Linked DNA regions of Homo sapiens: region 1 is linked to region 2. The links are contacts of gene promoters, found by promoter capture Hi-C in blood cells and fetal thymus (Javierre and others, 2016). All regions are on one chromosome and are shown on one strand. The core of a region is centred on a gene start or on the middle of the fragment in contact, and the rest is flanking DNA. Distances in the headings are between cores, read along the strand shown. Region 1 overlaps COBL (cordon-bleu WH2 repeat protein). Region 2 holds the start of DDC (dopa decarboxylase).

Region 1 (5,831 bases), core at 1,288-3,787, 530 kb after region 2:
TTGTATATCCCATAATTGCTTAAAGAATATAATTTTAATAATCTCACCACAAAAAAAAGTTAGTGAGGTAATATATATACATTAATTAGCTTGATTGAATATTTTGACAATGCATACATAGATTAAAAATCACATTGTACCCCATAAATATAAACAATTATTATTTATCAATTAAAAGTAAATAAATTTTTAAAATAAAGGAGAAATAAAGACCTAGCTAGATAAATAAAAGCTGATGAAGTTGATCATCTCTAGACCTGCATTACAAGAATTGGTAAAGGAAGTCTGTCAAGTTGAAAGGAAAGGACACTAGTTAGCAACATGAAAGCATATGAATATATAAAGTTACTCTCTGATGGAGTAACTATATAGACAAATACATAATCCTGGAATATAATATGTTCACAATAGTGTGTGAATAATTTTTAATTCTGGTAGAGAATTTAAAAAATAAAAGCATAAAAATATAAGTATAAAACTGTGAATAAATACAAAGTATGAAAATATGTACTTTGTGACATCAAAATATGATGTGTATAGGGTGAAATGCAAAGGAAAACAGCTTTTGTATGTTACTGAAGTTAAATTGTTATCAATTTAAAAGAGATTGTTATAAGATTTTTATGTAATCCTCATGGTAAGCACAAAGAAAATACCTACAAAAGATGCACAGGAGAAATGAAAAGGAATCAAAGTCTGTGTATTAGTCTGTTCTCATGCTGCTAATTAATAAAGGCATACCAAAGAATGGGCAATTTATAAAGGAAGGAGGTTTAATTAACTTACAGTTCCACATGGGTGGGGAGGCCTCACAATCACAGTGGAAGGTGAATGAGGAGCAAAATCATGTCTTACATGGCGGCAGGCAAAGACAGCATGTGCAGGGGAACTCCCCTTTATAAAACCATCAGATCTCATGGGACTTATTCACTATCATGAGAACAGCAAGGGACAGATCCACCACCATGATTCAATGACCTCCCATTGGGTCCCTCTCACGACACGTGAGAACTATGGGAGCTAAAACTGAAGATGAGATTTGAGTGGGGGACACAGCCAAACCATATTACTATGTAACTACAAACGTCAACAAAATACAAAGGAGAGTGCCAACAGAATAAAAGAGCAACAAAACTACAAGATATACGGAAACCAATTAACAAAATAGTAACAAGTCCTTCTCTATTAGTAAATAATTAAATGTAAATGGATTAAACTCCCCAATCAAAATATATAATCAAAATATTTAATCCATTCATGGCTGAATGGATTAAAAAACAAGATCCAACTATACACTGTCTACAAAAGATTCACTCTGGATATAAGGACATAAATAGGCTGGAAGTAAAAGGAGGGAAAAAGATATTCCATGCAAATAGTAACTAAAAGAGTGAATATGGCCATAATTACATCAAATAAGATAGACTTCAAGTCAAAAACTGTCATAAAACAAAGAAGGACCTTATATAATGATAAACGATCTACTCACTAGGAAGGTATAAAAACTATAAATACATGCGCATCTACCAGCAGTGTATTCAAATACATAAAGCAAACATTGACATAATTGAAAGTAGAAATAGACAGAAACACAATTAAAGTAGGATATTTCAATGCTCCACTTTCAATAATGAATAGATTAACCAGAGAGATCCATAAGTAATAGAGGACTTGAACAACAATATAGACCAATGGGATCTAACAGATACCTATCTCTGTCTCTTTCTCTGTCTCTATGTTATATAGAACATTCTCTATGATAGATCACATTTAAAGCCACAAAAGAAGTCTTAACAAGATTAAAAATATGAAAATCATATCAAATATCTTTTCTGACTATAAATAATGGAATGAAGCTAGAAATCAATAGTAAAACGAAAAGTGAAAAAGTCACAAATATGTGGAAACTGAATAATACAATCTTGAACAACCAATGGTTCAAAGAAGAAATCACAAGGGTAGTCAGAAAATATATTGAGACAAATGAAAATAAAACCATAATATGCCAAAACTCATGGGATTCAGGCAAAGCAATTCTAAGAGGAAAGCTTGTAATAATAAACACCCATATGAAAAACAACGAAAGAGCTCATCAGCAATATGACTTTGTACCTCAGGAAACTGAAAGAACAAATTAAACCAACATTTAATAGAAAGATTAAGGCAGAAATAAATGAAATAGAAAATAGAAAAAGGAAAAAAGAACTTTGGTTAAAATATTAACAGAATTTCAGTTTTTTTAAAAGATCAACAAAATTGACTACCCTTAGTTACAGTAAGTAAAAAATGAGAGAAGACTCATATTTTAAAAATTAGAAAGAGACATTACAAGTGATGCTACAAAAACAAAAAAGATCATAGGAGGCTATTGTGAATAATTACACACCAACCAATTGGATAACCTAGAAGAAATGGATAGATTTCTACAAACATATATCCTACTAAGACTGAGTTATAAAGAAACAAAAATTCTGGACATAACCTATAAGCAGTCAGGAAATCGAATCAGTAACCAAAAACCTTCCAACAAAGAAAAGCCCACAACCAGATGGCTTCAATGGAGAATTCTACCAAATACTTAAAGAACAAATACAAATTCTTTTCAAAATCTTTCCAAATATTGATGAGGAGGAAGACTTCCAGACTCATTTTATGATGCCAGCAGGACCCTGACACCAAAAATAAGACAAAGATAGTATAAGAAAATTACAGACCAGTATCCCTGATGAAACATTGGTATAAAAATTCTCAACCAAGCACTAGCAAACAGAATTCAACATCACAATAAAAGGATTATACACTACAATCACACGGGATTTATTCCTGGAAGGTAAGAATGCTTCAATATAAAAACATCAATCAATGTAATATGCCACAGTGAAAGACAAAAACCATACAAAACTCAACACCCTTTTATGATTTAAAAAAACACTCAACAACTAGGAATCAAAGGAAATTACCTAAACTTAACAAAGTCCACACATAAAAATCCCACAGCTGACATCATACTCAATTGTGAAAAACTGAAAGCTTTCTCTTTAAGACGAGGAAGAAGGAAAGAATACCTTCTCTTCCCATTTCTATTGAAAATAGTGTTGGGAGTCCTAGCCATAACAATTAGGCAAGAAAAAGAAATATAAGGCATCTAAATTGAAAACGGAAGAAGTGAAATTATTCCTTTTGCATATACATGATTTTATATGTAGAAAATCCTAAAGATTTGACAAAAATGCTGTTAGAACTAATACATACATTCAGCAAAGTTGCAGGATACAAAATCAATTCCAAAAAATCAGTTTTGTTTTTATACACTAACAATAAACAATCTAAAAAGGAAATTAAGAAAATAATTTAATTTGCAGTTGCATTAAAAATAATAAAATACTTAGAAATAAGCTTAATCAGGCTGGGTGCAGTGGCTCACACCTGTAATCCCAGCACTTTGGGAGGCCGAGGCGGGTGGATCACAAGGTCAGCAGATCGAGACCATCCTGGCTAACACAGTGAAACCCTGTCTCTACTAAAAATACAAAAAAATTATCCGGGCATGGTGGCGGGCACCTGTAGTCCCAGCTACTCAGGAGGCTGAGGCAGGAGAATGGCATGAACCCGGCAGGCGGAGATTGCAGTGAGCCAAGATTGCGCCACTGCACTCCAGCCTGGACAACAGAGCGAGACTCCATCTCAAAAAAAAAAAAAAAAAAAGCAATAAGCTTAATCAAGGAGATAAAAAAGACTTGCACACTGAAAACTACAAAACATTGCTGGAATTAGAGAAGACACAATAAATATTTTCATGAAAGTATTAATAATGTTAAAATGTCCATGCTACCCAAAACAATCTATACATTCAAAGCAATCACTACCAAAATCCCAATAGCAGTTTCTTTTTTTTTTTTGGAGAAATAGGAAAAACAAATCCTAAAGGTCATGATGGAATCTCAAAGTACTCCAAATAACCAAAGCAATCTTGAGGGGAAGAAAACAATAAAACATAGCTGGAAGCCTCACACTTTCTGGTTTCAAAACATATTACAAAGCTACTATAATGAAAACAGTATGGTACTGACATAGAGAACAATGTGTAAATCAATGAAACAGAATAAGGAGCTCAAAAATAAACTTTCATGTATATAATCTAATGATCTTTGATAAAGGTGTTAACACAATGTGGAAGATAGTTTCTTCAACAAATGGTGTTTGGAAAATGCAAAATATTCAAATACAAAAGAATGAAATTGGGCCCTTACCGTTAACCATATAAAAAAATTAAAATGGATTAAACATCCAAATGTAAGACCTGAAATTATAAAGTTCCTAGAAGAAAACATAGAGGGAAATCTTTATGACATTCTATTTGGCAATGGTTTCTTAGATATGGCACCAAAAGTACAGACAACAAAAGCAAAAATAGACTAATGTGAGTATATCATACTTAAAAGCTATTGTGCAACAAAGGAAACAATCAACAGAGTGAAGAGGGAACCTATAGAATGAGAGAAAATATCTATAAACCATATGTCTGAAAGGGGGTTAATATATAGACTATATAAAGAGCATCAAGTCAACAATGACAATAAGCAAACAATCTGATTTACAAAGAGGCAAAGAATTTGAAGAGACGTTTCTCCAAGGAAGATATACAAATGGCCACAAAGCATATGAAAAGATGCTCAACATCACTAATCATCTGGGAAATGCAAATCAAAATTACAATAAGATATCACCTCACTTCCACTAGGATGGCCACTATCAAAAAAAAAAAAAAAGAGAGAAAACAAGTGTTGGTGAGGATGCGGAGAAATTAGAATTCTTATGCATTGTTAGTAGGAATGTGGAATGATACAAGTACTATGGAATAAGTATAAAGTACCTCAAAAAATTAAAAATAGAATTACCACATAATCTAGCAATCCCACTTCTGGATATACATCCAAAAGAACAGCAAACAGAATTTCAAAGAGATGTGTTCTTGTTCACTGCAGCACAGTTCACAATAACCAAGAGGTGGAAGCAACATAAATATCTATTGATGGATGAATGCATAAAGAAAATGTGGTCTATACACAGAGTGGAACATTATCAAGGAAATTCTGACACATGCTGTAACTTAGAGAAACTTTGAAAAGGTTATGCTAAGTGAAATAAGCCAGTCACAAAAAGACAAATAATCGCATAATTCCATTTACATGAGCTATATAAAGTAGTCAAACTTTAGAAAGTAGAATGGTGGTTGCCAGGAGCTTGAGGGAGGGGGAAAAGATGAATTATTTTTCAATGGGTATAAAATTTCAGTTATGCAATATGAAAAAGTTCTAGTGATCTAGAGGTGCCTATATTAAACATGACACTTAAAAATGATTAAGATTATACATTTCATGCTATGTGGTTTTTTTAACCACAATTTTTTAACCACCATTATTATTAATAATAAAGAGTCCTTGTCATCTGGTTAGCTCACATTCGGTTTGTGATAATATCACCAGAATTCTTTCAAATAAATGGATATGAAACCTTTCCATTTTTTCTGTTAATACCTACTTATCACTTTAGCCCACTGTTCTAACTTGTAAGACTTTTCTAGGCCTAGAGGCTGGTGTGATGTGGTGTTCTAGTCTTTTAGAAGCCCTGACTCGACCTTATACCTGAGTATTCAAGAGTTCTTAGGAAGAGATGAGATGCCTGGCCTTGCCACCACCTCCACTGTGGTAATCCTGCCTATTATTTCCACCCTATTTGTTGATAACACTGAAAGCCATAACACCTTGGCTTTAGTTACTAGACTTCTTCCTTCAGAGTTGACATCAATCTATTAACTAATGGTGATTGTT
Region 2 (5,273 bases), core at 1-2,500:
TCCCTGGTTTCAAAAATGTCACATATCCACTTTGCCAGGACTTCCAGGGTAGAGTTCTATAGGGTCATCTTCATCCTACACCGCATCCAGATAAGCACAGGGAGCAAGGCTGAATGCTGGAGGGACTTACCCCAGCCATGGGAGCAGCGCTTGTCGCCCTGGACCTACACACTGGATTGCTTGGCTGCCCGACAGCACCAAGTGCAAACGGGCTACATTCACATTTCGTCTCTGCCAGCTGCAAGATCTTATGCCATCCTCCTCCCCTCCTCTGGCTGTTTGCTCACTTGTGAAATGGGGATGTGACTGGAGGTGAAGAAGGCAAACCTTCTAGACAGAGCCCAATGTAAACTGACCACTCAGAAGTAATGGTTTTAACTCACGCATGATGGAGAGCAATGATTTCCATCGATTAAGCTTTGATTCTTATATACTTCCGACAACAGACTTAAAACCAGGAGAACTTCGACTCCTTGAAGTCGATAACCGAACAATTCTCCCAATAGAAATTCCTATCCGCATATGTTTTCAGATGGGAATTGTACTCAGCATGGCAAGTTGGTGGGAAAGATCTTCTAATTCTCCTCAAATCACACTGCATAGGTAGACACCAAATTGACCTCTAAGTAAACTATAACATACACCAAAAGGAGAGAGCCCTGACGGAGCCTCAGATGTTATAAAGGGAAGGGCAGAGTTCACATTTACTAATCACCTCCATAAAATCATGGGATTTAATCCTCACAAGGTAGATACTAAGAAAATCCTCATTTACAGAAGAAACAGAGGCTGGGGGAATAAAATACCCAACACCATCCCTGGTGGTGCATGGAAAAAATAGAATCACATCTGGCCCGCATTTGCTACTGAGCCAGTCATGAAATCATTCCCAGCACCTATCAAACATGTGTCACTGGAGTGACTGTGTGTGCATGGAGAGCCACCAAGTGCACAGCCCCCACTGAACAAAAACCCCTGCCAGCCTGCAGCAGAAGAGAAAGCACCACACAAGCTCCCTCAAGTGAGTTAACCTTTAAGCAAATGTTCAGTAACATGGGGCCAGAGAGTCAAGGTACATGTTGCTGTTTTCCACTACTACAATCTGAGTAGGTATAAAATCAGAGACTTACATGCTGGAAATTCGAATTCCTTACAGGGCTACTCTCCTTGATGGGATTCTCCAACTTTGGGGACTGAAGAGCATGTGGAGAAGCTGCTGAGGCACTCGGCACTGAGACAGTCACTCTTCTTGAAACTCCAAGCCACACGTTTCCCTCTTCTTGCATTTCCAGCCACATGTGCCAGTTAAACATTAATTCCTGATGGTGACAAAGGTCAAGGAAATCTTGAGAAATAGCTCGCCTCTGGGAATCCTGAGAGCACATTCTGAAGAGACTGTTTCATTCCAAATCCTGGAAGCTTGGATCTTTCTTATGTAATTCTACATACATCCCATCTTTTACTAAGCAGCCCTGATTTCAAGTTTGGAGCCCATTAAGTCATCTGATATGTTCCAGCCCTGCACCAGGTGATGCCTGCATTGCACACAGCCTCCTGCCCCTGAAGGCAGCCCCAAAGTAAGCCTGCACTTCCCGGTGCAGCACTCAGCAATATGGGTAAGATTTCCAGGTTCAGATATCAGCAGAACCCAGGAACTCACCTTCCTTCCCCAAACCCATCAAAATCATAGTTGAGATGCATGAAACAATACTCTGAGTGGAATTTGGACAAATTTATAAAAAAACCCCAAAGTCGATAGAATTTTATGAGAGCACAAAGCAGGGCTGAGAAAGCCACATTGAGAAGTTGAGCAGGCACAGCCTGCAGGGATCTTAGGAGCTGGTCTTTCTGGCAGACCCCCAGCAGCTCCAAGCGTGGGGCTCAGTGGGTGTGAAGAGCAGAGTGAGAGTGAGGCTGGCTGCGGGCAGCTCATTAAAGGACTGGAAACAAGGCAGAGAGGGCTGTCACTAGAGCCATTTGTCACAGGCTAGATGCAGGGAAGAGCTCTCCTTGCTCTATCCTAGGGGACTGGAGCAGGCTGGGGCGGGGCACCTAGGGTTCCTATTGTTAGGACTGGAACTGGAGAGAGAAGCAGAGTGACATTGAGGAGTCTCAAAACCTCCACAGGAGCCATTGGAGGAAAGAGGGAAAAGAGAAAGAATGGCAAGTGAGCCCTCCAATGACGCACACCCAAATGCTCCCGCCTGGGGTCTCACAGGAGCTGAGAACCGAAGAAGTGATTGTCCTTGGTAAGGGGAAGAGTGAGGGAAGGGCTCCAAAGAGGGAACAGCCTCTGCAAAGTTACTGAGGATCAAGCTCGGCATCTCCCAGGCCCTGACAGAAGGCCAACTCCTAAGGACCATTCAAAGTAGGGGAGGGGGAGTCTTGCAAGCCACGTTACGTAATTTGTATCCCCCCAACTGTAATAGAAGGCATTGAAGTGTTTCTAGAAAGCAGTAACCTTAGCTTACTTATGGTTTAAGATCACTCTGGCTCTGGGGTAGAAAATGGATCAGAGGGAGATAAGGGTGAAAGGGTTAGACCCTTTAAGTTGGACCACCAATTCCCACCACATTCCTTGGATTTCTGCACTTTCCTGCAAACCAGGAGTGAATTCAAGTGAATCCATTCTAGGAGATGGGCTGGGGGAGGGAGGGGGGGCTTGAGATGAAGAAGCGTGCTAATATTCCCCATAAGTGCGTGTGTGTGTGTGCATGTTAGGAGGTTGCTGGACAAGGGGAGGAGTCAAGGGGATGGAACGACTACCCAGTGATGAAGCCAGTGGGCAGGGGATGACGGTCATAGACTGAGAGGAAGAAGACTGGGGTGGACCAGTATTGGGTGTGGGGAGGTGAAGGACACCAAGGATTCAGTTTGGGAATTAAATTTCAGATATCCACAAATCGTGTGATTTGAGATGTCCAGTACAGCTCAGAAAAAGAGGCCCAGACAGGAAATAAAGTTATGGGTTGAAAGTGTTTAGATGATATTTGAAGCAATAGGACTGGAAAAAAAACATCCATAGAGAAGAGAGACCTCAGTTTTGAAATCCTCAAAAAAGTGAACTAGTAGTGTCCAACTACTGAGCAACAGTTATCTCTCAATAGAGAAATCTACATAGGAATCAGCATCCGTTCCCAGAAGGGACTCTTTTTACATTTCCTTTCTTCTTGCAGGTGTGGGATTTATGGGGAATAGGGGTGAGGCTTCGAGGACCAAAGAAAGAAATCTAGGGCAGGATTTCCCAACCATGGCACTTTATCAGTCAGGTTTCTCCAGAAAACTGGAAATAATAGGATATGGATATAGGAATATAAGAAGAGATTTATTGTAGAAATTGGCTCATGTGATTATGGAGGCTGGGAAGTCCCACAGTCTTCCATCTACAGGCCGGAGAACTAGATAAGCTGGTGGTGTAATTCATCCTGAGTTTGAAGGCCCAAGAGCAGGAGAAGATGGATATCCCAGCTCAAGAAGAGAAAGAATTTGCCCTTCATCCACCTTTTTGTTCTATTCTGGCACTCAACAAACTGGATGTTACCAGCCCACACTGGTGAGGATGGATCTTGTTTACTTTCTGGAGATTCCAATGCCAATCTCTTCCAGAAACACCCTCATGAACACAACCAGAAATCCTGCTTTACTGGCCCTCTGGGCATCTCTTAGCCCACTTCAGTCGACACATAACATTAACCATCCCAGCACTATTACATTAAGGGTGTATAATTCTCTGTGATGGGAGCTGTCCTGTGCATTATAGAATGTTTAGCAGCATCCGGCTTTTACTCATTAGGTGCCAGTAGTCCCCAGTTGTGACAACCAAGAATGTCTCCAGGCATTGCATGTTTCCTGGTGGCAAAATTGCCCCTGGTTGAGAAAGGCTGATCTCGTGTGACCTTGTAATGCCCCAGGGCAGGGGAAGGTAGCATGGGTTGCAGCCAAGGCTGTTCCTGGAAGAGGGTGAGTCTGCTCTTCCACAGGAGCAGCAACGGCCATCTCTCATGATGCCAGAGTGGCCTGCAGTCAGTCGCAACAGTGTGCATGTTGCAGGAGGGAGACTGCAGGTGCAGACGTGACTGTGAAAGAGATTCACAGTGCACCTGAGTGTGGCTCCTGGGAGCAGAAGAGACGGGGCTTCCTGCTGAGACCACTGTGTGCCAGAGCAAAGTGGGCACTGGGGGCTTTGCTGAGGCCATGGGTGAAGAGAGAGGAGCTCTACTGCTATGCCCACACTCTGGCCAAGCCCACAGACAGGAGTGTCAGGGGAACTGAGTTTTCCTGGAAAAGCCAATTTGTTTAGGAGCTGGTGAGAATATCAATTCTGTTTTCTTTTCTTCCAGCGTAGAAGTTTTTTATTTTAATGAAGTCCAATTCATCAGTCCTTTTCCTCCATAGATTGTATTTAATGGAGGAAACTGGTGATTTATCTAAAAGGTCATCATCAAACTAAACTAGATTTTCTCTTGTGTCATCCTCTAGGAGTTTTATAGTTTTGCATGTTACCTTTAAGTCTATGAACCATTTTGAGTAAAGGTCTAGATCTAGATTCTTTTTTTTTTTTTGCATGTGGACGTCCATTTATTCCACAACCATTTGTCAAAGAGCCTATCCTTTCTTCATTGTATTGCCTTCACTCCTTTGTCAAAGACCATTTCACCATATTTGTGTGGGTCTATTTCTGAGCTCTCTATTCTGTTCCATTCATCTGTCTATTCTTTTACCAATAGCACTTTCTTAACTACTGTAGCTTTGTAGTAAGTCTTTTATTCATTTACTTATTAATTTACTTACTTATTTGAGACACAGTCTCGCTCTGTTGCCCAGGCTGGAGTGCAGTGGCGCTATCTCGGTGCACTGCAACCTCCACTTCCTAGGTTCAAGCAATTTTTGTGCCTCAGCCTCCCGAGTAGCTGAGATTACAGGCATGTACCACCACGCCTGGCTAATTTTTGTATTTTTAGTAGAGATGGGGTTTCACCATGTTGCCAGGCTGGTCTTGAACTCCTTACCTCAAATGATCCACCTACCTCGGCCTCCCGAAGTGCTGGGATTACAGGCGTGAGCCACTGCGCCTGGCTGTAGTAAGTCTTTAAGTTGGGCAGTGTCAGTCCTCCAAGTTTGTTTTTCTCTCAAAAGTCTCAAATCATTGGCCTCAGACTATTGGTGGGTCATGGAATGGGTTTTGCAGGTCTCATGACCAGCATTTTAAAAAATGCAATAGAACAGAATAAAATATAAAACAGGAGACATTGCACCTAATGATGAAAATATTG

What was found. The method cuts DNA at HindIII sites, captures the fragments that hold promoters and counts their contacts. A CHiCAGO score of 5 or more calls a contact.
Region 1: a fragment that was not itself captured here is called in contact with the fragment with the promoter of DDC in region 2 in 1 of 17 cell types (erythroblasts); the score reaches 7.0 in erythroblasts.

The regions. Positions count from the first base shown.
Region 1 is chr7:51,094,338-51,100,168 of GRCh38, forward strand. The region is part of intron 6 of COBL (cordon-bleu WH2 repeat protein); the gene reads right to left. Among named protein-coding and RNA genes, the nearest start is that of COBL, 220 kb to the right of the region's middle. The HindIII fragment of the contact is 982 bases long and covers 2,047-3,028 here.
Region 2 is chr7:50,564,155-50,569,427 of GRCh38, forward strand. It overlaps DDC (dopa decarboxylase), which reads right to left and starts at 1,251. Exons shown (of 15, transcript NM_001082971.2): 1 at 1,131-1,251. The HindIII fragment of the contact is 1,002 bases long and covers 416-1,417 here.